Linked DNA regions of Homo sapiens: region 1 is linked to region 2. Evidence: promoter capture Hi-C in 16 types of primary human blood cells and fetal thymus (Javierre and others, 2016). All regions are on one chromosome and are shown on one strand. The core of a region is centred on a gene start or on the middle of the fragment in contact, and the rest is flanking DNA. Distances in the headings are between cores, read along the strand shown.

Evidence for each region. The method cuts DNA at HindIII sites, captures the fragments that hold promoters and counts their contacts. A CHiCAGO score of 5 or more calls a contact.
Region 1: a fragment that was not itself captured here is called in contact with the fragment with the promoter of ZBTB46-AS1 in region 2 in 1 of 17 cell types (M2 macrophages); the score reaches 5.2 in M2 macrophages.

The regions. Positions count from the first base shown.
Region 1 is chr20:63,573,994-63,580,450 of GRCh38, reverse strand. HELZ2 (helicase with zinc finger 2) reads left to right here and starts at 6,212. Exons shown (of 20, transcript NM_001037335.2): 1 at 6,212-6,267. RefSeq lists silencers at 4,593-4,778, 5,888-6,167 and an enhancer at 5,376-6,103. The HindIII fragment of the contact is 4,805 bases long and covers 1-4,050 here.
Region 2 is chr20:63,806,157-63,813,364 of GRCh38, reverse strand. ZBTB46-AS1 (ZBTB46 antisense RNA 1) reads right to left here and starts at 5,289. Exons shown (of 3, transcript NR_110081.1): 1 at 5,210-5,289. The region is part of intron 1 of ZBTB46 (zinc finger and BTB domain containing 46); the gene reads left to right. The HindIII fragment of the contact is 29,160 bases long and covers 1-7,208 here.

The DNA of each region.
Region 1 (6,457 bases), core at 399-2,898, 230 kb after region 2:
ACCATCAATTCATAGACATTGTTGTCAACCTGGAGACATTATTGTTAACCTGGAGACACCATCAATTCATAGACATTGTTGTCAACCTGGAGACACCATCAATTTATAGACATTGTTGTTAACCTGGAGACATTGTTGTCAACCTGGAGACACCATCAATTCATAGACGTTGTTGTCTACCTGGAGACATTATTGTTAACCTGGAGACACCATCTATTCATAGGCATTGTTGTCAACCTGGAGACACCGTCTATTCATAGACATTGTTGTTAACCTGGAAACATTGTTGTCAACCTGGAGACACCATCAATTCATAGACATTGTTGTCTACCTGGAGACACCGTCTTTTCATAGACATTGTTGTTAACCTGGAGACATTGTTGTCTACCTGGAGACACTGTTGTCAACCTGGAGACACCATCAATTCATAGACATTGTTGTCAACCTGGAGACACCATCAATTCATAGACATTGTTGTCTACCTGGAGACATTGTTGTTAACCTGGAGACATTGTTGTTAACCTGGAGACACCGTCAATTCATAGACGTTGTTGTCTACCTGGAGACACCATCTAGCTGGAGACGCCATCTGTCCTTAGACATCCTCATCTACCTGGAGATGTCCACACAAGGCTGCTGCCCACTCCCCATGCCAATCTCAAGCCCCGGGTGCTTCAGACCAATTGGCTATAAATTGAGGTTCCTAACCCCCATATTTGGGTCAGATTAATTTCCTAGAGCAGCTCACAGAACTCAGGGAAACATGTTTACCCATTTATTATAAAGGACGTTACAAAGGACGCAGATGAAGAGATGCGTAAGGGGAGGGGCGCAGAGCTTTCACCCCACAAGGGCACCCCGTCCAGGAACCTCCACGGCTCTCTGAGCCCTGTCCTTTTGCGACTTCATGGAGGCTTCATTACCCAGGCATGATTGATTACGTCACTGGCCACTGGTGAGGACCGCCTTCAGCCGCCTCTCCCCTCCCCTGCCTGGAGGTTGGGGCAAGGCTGCAAGTACCACCCTCTACTCCTGCTGAGGCCTTTCTGAGGACCAGCCCCATCCTGAGGCTGCCTCCAGGCTGCCAGCCTTCGGTCAATATCAGCACAAAAAGGCACTTGCCACTTTGGCTACTCCAGGGATTTTAGGGGTTTTTGCCAGGAAACGGGACGAGACCAAATATGTTAATGTATATTTCACAATGTCACACGCACATGGCTGTGTGTGCAGAGGCCAGGCAGGGAGAGAGGACAGAGCAGCTGGGAGGCCCCGGGGGGCGTAGACCCATCCTGGGACTAAACCCCCATCAGATCCTTCTGGCACCCCTGCAAGGAGAAGGTGTGGTCCCCCTGACTTTCTCCCCAGGGGCTCATCTCGAAGGAGGCCTCCCGGCTGCACGGCTCCCACAAGGCCAAGAGGAGGAGATCTGAAATCGGCTCCACTCCCTCCCACTGCAGACCCTATCACCTCCTCCACTAGGGGTGTGAGCTTTTGGCTGGTGGGAGGGCGCCCGGGAGGGTCTCTGGAAAGATGGGAACCGGGTGTTAAAGACCTGCTTAAGCGAGTTATACCCAGAGGCCGTCAGTTCCTGCCCGAGAGCACATGGCCCACAGTCACAGGTAAACTGAGGCCTGGCCCTAAGCCCTGGGGACCTCCACCTGCTTCGTGACGCTGGGGACAGTGTGTACGTTTTCCTGCAGGGTTCAGGTGATGGCAGACGGCAGAGGGCAGCAGACGGCAGGCTGGCACTGGGGGGCCATGGAACCCACTGGCAGGGACGCTGGGTGAGGAGGACCTAGGGACCGGGATGAGACAAGCTGAGGGTGTTGGGCAGACATTTCTTACTTTGTATTTTGATATAATAATTTAAACAAACGTACACAAATGTTGCAAAAATAGAACAAAGGACTCCCTGTGCTCTATGCGGACTCACCAGTCGCTTTGTTCTGGCCCATTTGCCGGTTCTGTAGAAGCCTGTAGTTCCAGGCAATTGAGACTAAGACACGATACCCCTTCACCTTTCAGATACGATACCCCTTCACCCTTCACCCTTCACCCTTTACCCCATCACTTCAAGGTGTGTTTCCTCAGAACGTGGAAGCTGTCTGTTACAAAGTCAGGAAGCTGACGTGGATACAATAATATTACTAATACTCAGCCCGTGTGAGCGTGTTGTTGGCCGTGTGCTGTGTGTACGTGGAACTCTCTCCCGTGGTCTCACACTCAGCCCGTGTGAGCGTGTTGTTGGCCGTGTGCTGTGTGTACGTGGAACTCTGTCCCGTGGTCTCACACTCAGCCCGTGTGAGCGTGTTGTTGGCCGTGTGCTGTGTGTACGTGGAACTCTGTCCCGTGGTGTCACACTCAGCCCGTGTGAGCGTGTTGGCCGTGTGCTGTGTGTACGTGGAACTCTCTCCCGTGGTCTCACACTCAGCCCGTGTTAGGGGTCACTGTGGCCTGAGCACAGCTGGACGGGAGCCAGAGAGCTGTCCACGGCAACCTGCAGGTTTTCAATGCTCTGTGGACTCGAGGTGGCACTTTTTGTTTTTGTTTTGAGTTAAGAAGACGTGCACAGATGTGAAAGGTGGGCGGAAACAGGACATCTCCCTCCTGTCCTGGCCGCACAGTCCTGATCTGTCTCCCAGGCTGGAGTGCACTGGCACCATCACAGCTTACTGAGGTCTTGAACTCCTGGGCTCAAGTGATCCTCCCGCCTCAGCCTACCAAATTGCTGGGATCACAGGTGTGAGCCACCGTGCCTGGCCAACCTCATTTTTAATGGCCTTAGAGTCTTCCATGGCACAGGGTGGAGACTGCCCATTACATAGACCCTGAGCGAGGGGCCCTGGGCATTCCCGGTCCATTGGGTGTAGAAGGAGCTGCCGGGAGCTGTTGGTGGGCACAGATGTCCCTCTGTGCAGGAGCCTCTGTGGAGCCACGTGGAAGGCGCGTGTCCTGTGCTCCCGGGCCTGGCTGGTTTCCAGAGCGGTGCTGCCAGTTTAGACTCTGGCCGAGTGCCTGCAATGTCAGAGGGGTGGACGGGTTGTCTGGGGCTGGTTTGCGTTTCCCTTACGCCGAGGTTGAACACTTCACTCCATTTACAGCAATTTCACTTTCCACGTTTTGTGAAGTATTGATTTGCATCCTTTGCCTATTTTTCTTTTAAATTATACATCTTTTTCTTAATTTATAAGATCTTTAAAATATTAGAGAGATCAGGGCCAGGCGCGGTGGCTCACGCCTGTAATCTCAGCACTTTGGGAGGCCGAGGTGGGTGGATCACGAGGTCAGGAGATCGAGACCATCCTAGCTAACACGGTGAAACCCCGTCTCTACTAAAAATGCAAAAAATTAGCCAGGCGTGGTGGTGGGCGCCTGTAGTCCCAGCTACTTGGGAGACTGAGGCAGGAGAATGGCGTGAACCCGGGAGGTGGAGCTTGCCGAGATTGTGCCACTGCACTCCAGCCTGGGTGACAAGAGTGAGACTCCGTCTCAAGAAAAAAAAATATATATCAGAGCGATCAGACTTTTCACTGTGACATAAGCTGCAATTTTGTTTTCTGTTCATGTTTGGTTTTTGACTCCTTTGATGGTGGTGTTTTTTTCCATGTGAAATTGTTTTGTGTCATTGAATTTATCACTGTTGTGCTGGTAGATGTTTAATTCGTTCTCTAAGAAGAAAAAAACAGTGCTTCAGGAGACAGGTTTTGTGGATTTCTGGGGTGTATGCTTGCCCCTCACGGCATGTGTGAAGCCACCAGCCCTGTCCTTGAGCCTGGCTGGGGGCGAGTGGCGCAGGGCTGGATTTCACCTAGAAAGGCCTTTCACATCCCAAGAGTCCTGAGAATCAGACACTTTCAGCCCTGGTTTCTCCTAGTGCCTCTGTGGTTGGCTTTTCCTTCCGTGAGAGTGTTTGATTATTTCATATGGTGTAAGATGCTACGCAGAGACCGTCCCTCCCATTTTTGTTTCCAGATGCTGCTAATCAGTTGTTCTAATAATTTGTGGAATGCATCAATGAATTGTTTTTCCCTGAGGTGTGAGAGCCAAGCTTTCTTTTCTTTTCTTTTCTTTCTTTTTTTTTTTTTTTGAGACAGAGTCTCGTTCCGTCTCCCAGGCTGGAGTGCAATGGTGTGATCTCAGCTTACTGCAACCTCCGCCTCGCCCCCCCCGACCCCAGGTTCAAGGGATTCTCCTGCCTCAGCCTCCTGAGTAGCTGGGACTACAGGCACCTGCCACCACGCCCAGCTATTTTTTTTTTTTTTTTTTGTATTTTTAGAAGAGATGGGGTTTCACTATGTTGGCCAGGCTGGTCTCGAACTCCTGACCTCAGGTGATCTGCCCACCTTGGCCTCCCAAAGTGCTGGGATTACAGGCGTGAGCCAGTGCGCCTGGCCGAGAGCCAATCTTTCATCCCACCCCAGACTCCTGAGTGTGACTCTATTTCTGGACTCTCTGTTCTGCCTTGGAACTGTGTGTCCACACCGGGTTCAGTGGCTTTGCAGTGTGTTATGTGTTTAGTAAGTCATGCCAGCACCCGCTGGGAATCCTTTTTAGTCATCATCCTGGGCTGGGTGTTGGGATTCAAGCCTGTAATCTAATCCCGGCACTCAAGGAGGCCGAGGTGGGGGGTTTGCTTGAGCCCAGGAGTTCAAGAGCAGCCTGGGCAACATTGAGAAACCCCATCTCTGAAAAACATAGAAAAAACTCCAAAATAGTTAACTGTGGTGGTGTGCACCTGTACTGTGGTGGTGTGTGCCTGTAGTCCCAGCGACTCAGGAGGCTGAGGGGGGAAGACTGTCTGAGCCAGAGGTCGAGGCTGCAGTGAACTGTGATTGCATCACTGCACTCCCGCCGGGGCAATGGAAGGAGACTCAGTCTCAAAAAAAAAAAAAGCCCTGTCCAGCCTTTCTTGGTGATGTGATGCTTTTCCAAATGGACTTGAAAGTCAGTGTGTCCACCATGCGACTGCAGGTTAGTTTAGGAGGAACTCACGTCTTTGTGTGGTGTTGAGCCTCTCCATCCAGGAACACAGCGTTCCACACAAATTCTCCCAGCGTTCCACGCACATGGACCCTGCTCAGCGCCCGGCCCCTGGGGCTGCTATTGTCGAGGGCCTGCCCTCTCCCAGGAGCTCCAACGTGATTGGTCTGCGGAGAGGCTCCCTGGTGGTTGACGGCCCACCCAGCCGACCTCCCGAGGTCGCTGTGAGCCCCCAGCCTGGCCCTCCCCACGAGGTGCTGGCCTTGGGTGGCAGCCTTGCTTCCTTGTTTCAGGGGCAGCATCACTGTCCGTTATCTACTGCTGCAGAACAGATCGCCCCAAAGCTCAGGGGCTTAAAACAACACAGATGTTTATTTTATTTATTTATTTGTTTTGAGATGGAGTCTTGCTCTGTTGCCCAGGCTGGAGTGCAGTGGCGCAATCTTGGCGCACTGCAACCTCCACTTCCTTGGTTCAAGCAATGCTTCTGCCTCAGCCTCCCGAGTAACTGGGACTACAGGCGCCCGCCCCCACCCCTGGCTAATGGGACGTTTATTTTAAACATAGACATCTAACAGCTGGGCGTGGTCTAGGTGGGAGGGTTAGGCCTGGGGTCTCCCTGAGATGGCAGTAAGGCTGGGGCTGGGACTCGAGCTGCAAGTGGGCTGGAGGCCTCAGCTCCTCTATGGGGCCTCCCCACAGGGCTGCTGAGGGCCCAGAGCCAGTCCAGAGAGCCAAGAGCCAGGCGTGCTGACTCTGGGACCCGGCGGCCACTTAGCCATTCCTGCCATATCCTGGTTGGTGACAGAAGGGACTTGGGGTCCCAGCAGCACCAGGGCCACGGGCAGGTCCTGCCTGTCAGGGGACCCAGGCTTCCAGGTCAGCTGTGCCTGGATTTCTCCAGGGGCTGATGGTGGAGTCACCAGACCATCCTGCCGTCCAGGGCCGGGCAGGGTCTCACCCCTTCCGCCTGGCACATCATCGGGGCGTCTCTGGTGTGTGAAGGGCTGGACGGGGCGTGGGGCCCTGGAGGGGTGCGGGAAAGGACCCCCACCCCCAGCCGCCTCCGCCTTCGACGGCGCTGGCCCTTCAGGGAGGGGCGTCCTCTGCTCGCTGGCGCTTCCCGAGGTTCCCTCGCAGCGGGGGCCGAGCTGTCGCTGGAGGCGGGGCAGGGCGGGGCGGGGCGGGGGGCGGTGAGGTAATTTCCGCGATCAGCGTCAGTGCCCGGGCCAGAATCGAAACTGAGAGCTCCTGGGCAGGCTCGGCAGGGCAGGCAGCTCCAGGAGGGTGAGCGCGGGGGTCCCAGGGCGGAGGGGCGGGGGCGCGGGGGTCCAGGGGCGGCTCCAGGAGGGTGAGCGCGGGGGTCCCAGGGTGGCGGGGCCGGGGGCGGAGGGGGGGGTCCGGGAGGGTGAGTGCAGCCGGGGGCGCGGAGTCCCGGGAGCCACAGACCCAGCCCGGGGCAGTGCAGCCCGTCCAG
Region 2 (7,208 bases), core at 4,040-6,539:
TGATTCTCCTGCCTCAGCCTCCCGAATAGCTGGGATTACAGGCGCGCTCCACCACACCCGGCTAATTTTTGTATTTTTAGTAGAGACGAGGTTTCACCATGTTGGCCAGGCTGGTCTCGAACTCCTGACCTCAGATGATCCACCCGCCTCAGCCTCCCAAAGTGCTGGGATTACAGGTGTGAGCCACCGTGCCTGGCCCCAACTTAATGTATTTTAAAACACGGGTTGTTTCATATTTTGATGCCTGTTTTTGTTTTGTTTTGTTTTTTTGAGACGGAGTCTCACTCTCACCAGGCTGGAGTATAGTGGTGCGATCTCGGCTCACTGCAACCTCCGCCTTCCGTGTTCAAGCAATTCTGCTGCCTCAGCCTTCCAAGTAGCTGGGACTACAGGCACGCGCCATCACACCCAGCTAATATTTTTCTCTATTTTTAGTAAAGACGGGGTTTCACCATGTTGGTCGGGATGCTGTCAATGTCTTGACCTCATGATCCACCTGCCTTGGCCTCTCAAAGTATTGGGATTACAGGCATTAGCCACCACGCCCAGCCGTAGTTTTTGTTTTGTTTTGTTTTGTTTTTTGTTTTGAGATGGAGTCTGGCTCTGTCACCAGGCTGGAGTGCAGTGGGGTGGTCTTGGCTCATGGCAACCCCCACCTCCCGGGTTCAAGTGATTCTCCCGCCTCAGCCTCCCGAGTAGTTGGGATTACAGGCGCCTGCCACCACACCCAGCTAATTTTTTGTATTTCTTTTACTAGGGACGGGGTTTCCACATGTTGACCAGGCTGGTCTTGAACTCCTGACCTTGTGATTCGCCCGCCTCCACCTCCCAAAGCACTGGGATTATAGGCGCGCACCACATTGCCTGGCTAATTTTTTGTATTTTAGTAGAGACGGGGTTTTACCATGTTGGCCAGGCTGGTCTCGAACTCCTGACCTCGTGATTCGCCCGCCTCCGCCTCCCAAAGTGCTGGGATTACAGGTGCACACCACATTGCCCGGCTAATTTTTTGTATTTTTAGTAGAGACGGGGTTTCACTATGTTAGCCAGGATGGTCTTGATCTCCTGACCTCGTGATCTGCCCGCCTCAGCCTCCCAAAGTGCTGGGATCACAGGCCTGAGCCTCCTTGCCTGGCCTTGTGAAAAATTTTAATGTTAATTTTCTTATTTCAAGTTGATTTTCATTTAGTTTTTACTAAAAATGCAAATGTAGTTTACCGTTGCTTCTCTTTTTTTTATGTAGGAAAAGTTGATGCAAATTTTGCCTGAATTTGGAGTTTTCCTATTAGTGAGAGTTTTGTTCCGAAAAGATCGCCGCCACTTTGGTGGGTCAGCACTAAAGCCTTGTTTCAATATCTGCAGGGTCAGTTCTTTTGAATATTTTAATGCTTCCACGTTTGGAGTCTAAGAGCTATTTTTACTTTAGTTTTTTTTCCCAGGCAAGTACTTGGTCTGAACGATGTATGAGCCAGACCTGGCAGAAAAGTGGGAGTTGGTGAAATAGATGTGCTACTTAGTGACAGGGACTGTGATTCTAACATTTTGTCTTATGGCAGAGTTGGATGAAAGGGGTTTGTTCCTGCACCATGGCTCACCTGCCCAGTGAGTCCTGAGTCCTCATGTGGCAGGGAGTCAGACAGCAGCAGCTCTCTTCCCAGCGGGGTAGAGCTCACCTGGCTGCAAGGTGAGCCGGCTGGCCCGTCGCCCAGCTCAGAGCTGACCCTCACACGTGCAGATCTCTGCTGGGCCCAGGGGTCAGGGTCAGTTGTCTGCGTCACCTATGGGCCACCCCCTCTCTGCACCCCCGAGATCTTCCTGCTCTCTGCGTTGCCTATGGCTATGAGCACAGTGGGCTTCCTGGAAATACTTTCAGAGGAGGTGACAGTCGTATCCTTCCAGGGCCCCTCCTGCCCTGTGGAAGAACTTACTTCTGCTCCTGGAAGTCAGAAGCTGGGAGGCCTGGGGCTGTAGTGTCTTCTGTATGAGAGGTGGGGTGGGGCTGGGGAGAGGAAGGCTGCTTGACTCTTCTTCAGGGAGACCCACCCCATGGCAGCTCCGAGGTCCTAGTGGGCTGGTGGCTCGCATCTTGTCCACCTGTTGTCGTCTCTTGCCCCTAGGGGGGCTCATGCCCATCCTGTGGGGTTCTGGGACCCAGACTCGCCCCTGTGGGCTGGGCGGGGTGGGGCTCATGCCCATTCTGTGGGGTTCTGGGACCCAGACTCGCCTCTGTGGGCTGGGCGGGGTGGGGCTCATGCCCATCCTGTGGGGTTCTGGGACCCAGAGAGGCAGACTCTTCGCCTGCCTGTTGGGTTTGTGAAAAGTCAAAGAGAGTGGAACACGGACGCCGGCTGGTGCTCTCCAGTGTTCTCCGGCTCTGCCGCTGGAGCTCCTCGTAGGAGTGAGGAAAGAGAGTGGAGCCTGGACGCCAGCTGGTGCTCTCCGGCTCTGCTGCTGGAGCTCCTCGTAGGAGTGAGGAAAGAGAAACGTAGATTGCTCTCATGTTCGCGCTCTGTTCACCTCCTGGGTGCTGATTTCCTGTGGCGTCATCCTACCCTGCATCTGTGCTGGTGGGCACGTTCTCGCGTTTGTGTTTTATTTTTATTTATTTTTTTGTTTTTTGAGACAGAGTCTCACTCTGTTGCCCAGACTGGAGTGCAGTGGCACAATTTTGGCTCACTGTAACCTCTGCCTCCCATGTTCAAACGATTCTCCTGCCTCTGCCTCCCTAGTAGCTGGGATTATAGGTGCGTGCCACCACGCCCAGCTAATTTTAATATTTTTAGTAAAGACAGAGTTTCGTTATGTAGGCCAGGACGGTCTCAAACTCCTGATCTCATATGATCCACCTGTCTCAGCCTCCCAAAGTGCTAGGATTACATTTGTGTTTTATGAATAAGGACCTTGGTTTGCGAGGGGAAGGGGGGTTTTGGTGCCTATCCTGAGTGTGGTCGGTGTGTGTGAGCTTGTGCAGACACGACCAGCTGGGCTTTCTGTTCTCATTTCTTCCCGTTAATTTCTGATAAACTTCTAAGCATCCACGTGACTGGCATTTTTAATGTTCCTGGAATTGGGTTTTGCTCAGTTTTAATACTTGACGGTTTTCTGGGCCATCTTCGAATTGTCGAGTGTTTGGGTCTTTTTCTGTTTGTCACTGTTAGCCATAGCAGTGCTTGGAACATCTTGGAACCAATTAGCTTTTTGGGTTATTTCCTTGGGGCAGAGTCTCAGAAGTGGAATTAGTCAAAGAGGCAGAGGCATCTGTAGGCCTCATCCCCACGCTGCAGGCTGCTTCAAGGGCCGCCCCACTCTGGGCCTCCTGTGTCACGGCCACCTTTGTAATTGACATTACGTTAATGTTTGCCAGTTCCATGTATTTAGAGTTTTCTTTTCTTTTTTTTTTTTTGAGAGAGGGCCTTGCTGTGTCACCCATGCCGGAGTACAGTGGTGCCATCTTGGCTCACTCCAACCTCGACCTCCCGACTCAAGGGATCCTCCCACTTCATCCTCCAGAGTCGCGGGGACTACAGGTGTGCACCACCATGCCCGGCTAATTTTTTCTATTTTTTGTAGAGATGGGGTCTCACCATGTTGCCCAGGCTGGTCTTGAACTTTTGGGCTCAAGCCATCTGCTCGCCCCGGCTTCCCTCAGCGTTGGGATTTCAGGCATGAGCCACCATTCTGGCCTGGCCTTGAAATCTTTTCTCAGAGTTAAGCACGTGTCTTTTAAGTCCTTTCCAGAAATCTTTAAAATTGTATCATTGAGTTAAGCCACACTGGCCACCACACGGCTAACTTCGTAAGGGAGAAGAGGGGAGAGGAAGGGAGGTCGCGGAGCTCCTGCTGTCTCCCGGAGTCCTCTCCACCTGCTGGGCTCTGGCAGGTTTGCTGAGGACCGCGTGAGGGCGCTGCTGTCTTCTGGGCTCAGGGCTCCTGTGAGCTCCTGAGGCCTGGACCCAGGGGTGGCCTTTGTTGCTCCCTTGGGCATAATATGGGGGGACACAGGCAAGATGTGGGGCCACCACCCCAGCAGGCCTGTGCCGAACCCCAGGACCCCATTCCTGGAATAGACGCGGCCATGAGGACTGGACGCGCTGGGCGTGGCCCACGGCGGGGCCCCCAGGGCTGCGCCCCCAGGGCTGCTGACCTTGCCCCCCTTGGCTCCACCGAGTCTGCACCTTTAGTGCCCACTTCGGCCAAGCCCATGGCGAAGTGCCCCAGGCGCTGCGGTCCCTGCGAAGGGGAACGTGGAAGGCGAACGTGGAGAGCCCCTTGAGTGCCTCTGCAGCACCGGAGCACCGAGCCGCCAGCTCCCAGGTCTTACCTCATGAATCATGGAGTTTTCTTTCTTTTTTTTTTTTCTTTTTCTTTTTTTTTTTTTTTTTTTTTTTGAAGCGGAGTCTCGCTCTGCCGCCCAGGCTGGAGTGCAGTGGCGCCATCTCGGCTCACCGCAAGCTCCGCCCCCCGGGTTCCCGCCATTCTCCTGCCTCAGCCTCCCGAGTAGCTGGGACTGCAGGCGCCCCCACCACGCCCGGCTAATTTTTTTTTGTATTTTTTAGTAGAGACGGGGTTTCACCATGTTAGCCAGGATGGTCTTGATCTCCTGACCTCACCATCCGCCCGCCTCGGCCTCCCAAAGTGCTGGGATTACAGGCGTGAGCCACCGCGCCTGCTGGTTTTATTTCTTAAGGCGGCCTTGGCGCCTGTCCTGGCCGAGCGCTGGACCGAGGAGGGCCTTCTCTGGGGGAGGCTCTGTCCGCCTCCCACCCACGCTGGAGGAGCTCAGGTCTCATGGGGAGGCAGGACTCGCTTAGGGGCGGGAGGTCACACTGCCCCGGAGCCCAGGCCCTGCCCTAGGAGGAAGAGCCTGGCTTCCCCCTTCCCTCCCGCCGGGCCCGGGGCTGAGACTCCTTGTGGGTCCGGATGACCCTGTCCGTGACCTCCGCCCTGGCCCCGCTTCCGCCCCACGCCCCCCTGAAGCCCCGGGCTCCGTGGCGTCTGCCTTCCGGGCCCTCCCCTGCGCTCAGCCCCCGGGGCAAGGGCTGGGAAGGATGGCTTGACTGGCCTACAGGGTACAGGGGACCCCTGACAGGTTCATCGCTGGGGCCCCATGGGCCCCCCCTCCGTCTGTGCCGTGCGGATGTGGAGACTGAGGACTCCTCCATCGAAGGCGGCCGGTGGTGAAATCCAGTAATCTGGGTGGGGTCCTTACCGCGCTGTCCGCGGGGTTTCCTCACTGCTCAGGCGGCTGCTGCTCATCCACGCCACCTCCGTCGGTCCGTTCAGCTTCCGTGAGTGTCCCCTGTGGGAAGGTCCGTTCAGCTTCCGTGAGTGTCCCCTGTGGGAAGGTCCGTTCAGCTTCCGTGAGTGTCCCCTGTGGGAAGGTCCGTTCAGCTTCCGTGAGTGTCTCCTGTGGGAAGGTCCGTTCAGCTTCCGTGAGTGTCCCCTGTGGGAAGGGCCTGTGCCGCACAAGGTGGGGACTTGGGCACACGGCCTCGGAGGCCAGACACCGGGCGAGCCCCGCTCTGGGAGTGAGACCCGCTCGGAGGGGGAGCGAGCCCTGAGGCGCCGCCTGTAAGCCAGACCCGCTGCCTCACACAGACGGGTGCTTCGCTTGTTTTGGCCTAGTACAGCTTTTAAGCAAAAAGTAACTGGTTAGGGATTCTATCATATTGCTTGATGTAAACAAATGCGGCAAAATGTTAAAAAATGGAGTAGCTGAAGGCCGGGCGCGGTGGCTCACACCTGTAGTCCCAACACTTTGGGAGGCCGAGGCGGGCAGATTGCTTGAGGCCAGGAGTTCGAGACCAGCCTGGCCAACATGGTGAAACCCCGTTCCTACTAAAAATGCAAAAATTAGCCAGGTATGCTGGCGTGCGCCTGTAGTCCGAGATACTGGGGAGGCTGAGGTGGGAGAATCACTCGAACTCGGGAGGTAGAAGTTGCAGTGAGCCAAGATGGCGCCACTGCACTCCAGCCTGGGTGACAGAGCGAGACCAAACTGACTCAAGAAGAAACAGAAAATCTGAATAGACCTATAACAAATAAAGAATCAGTAGTCAAAAAACTTCCAATGAAAGAAAAGTTCAGAAACTTTCACTACAGTTATTGTACTTTTTAGCTTCCAAAAAGAAAAGTCAATTTCAATAAAGAAATTGAATCAATAGTCAATAAACTTCCAACAAAAGAAAAGTCCATCTCTGTCTCTCTCTATATATGTATATGATTGTATATATCACTTCACTGTTGAATTCTATCAAACATTTTAAGAATTAACACCAATCCTGGCCAGGCGTGGTGGCTCACGCCTGTAATCCCAGCACTTTGGGAGGCCGAGGCAGGTGCATCATGAGGTCAGGAGATCGCGACTATCCTGGCTAACACGGTGAAACCCCGTCTCTACTAAAAATACAAAAAATTAGCCGGGTGTGGTGGCGGGCGCTGGTAGTCCCAGCTACTCAGGAGGCTGAGGCAGGAGAATGGCGTGAACCTGGGAGGCGGAGCTTGCAGTGAGCCGAGATGGCGCCACTGCACTCCATCCTGGCCGACAGAGCGAGACTCCATCTCAAAAAAAAAAACCAAAACAAAACAATTAGCTGGGCGTGGTGGTGGGCGCCTGTAGTCCCAGCTACATGGGAGGCTGAGGCAGGAGAATCGCTTGAACGTGGGAGGTGGAGGTTTTAGTGAGCCAAGGTCGCACCGTTGCACTCCAGCCTGGGTGACAGAGCCAGATTCCATCTCAAAAAAAGAGAAAGATTCCATCATATTCCTTGAGAGCATAGTGTTGCCTTTATTTTAAGCAGGTATTACAACCTTCTTATTTAGGTTCTATTTTTTTTGAAGTTACCATTTCAGGTCAGAGTTAGCCATAGCAGTATCTCAGATTTAAAATGTACACAAATAGTTTTCTTGCCTTGTTAAGCTGATTAGCTTTCTTTTCTTTCTTTTTTTTTTTTTTTTGAGATGGAGTTTCACTGTTGTTGCCTGGGCTGGAGTGCAGTGATATGTTCTCGGCTCACTGCAACCTCTGCCTCTCGGGTTCAAGCAATTTTCCTGCATCAGCCTCCCGAGTAGCTGGGATTACAGGCACCCGTCACCATGCCAGGCTAATTTTTTTTTTTAACTTTTAGTAGAGACGGGGTTTCACTATGTTGGCCAGGTTGGTCTCGAACTCCTGACCTCAGGTGATCCGCTCGTCTCAGCCTCCCAAA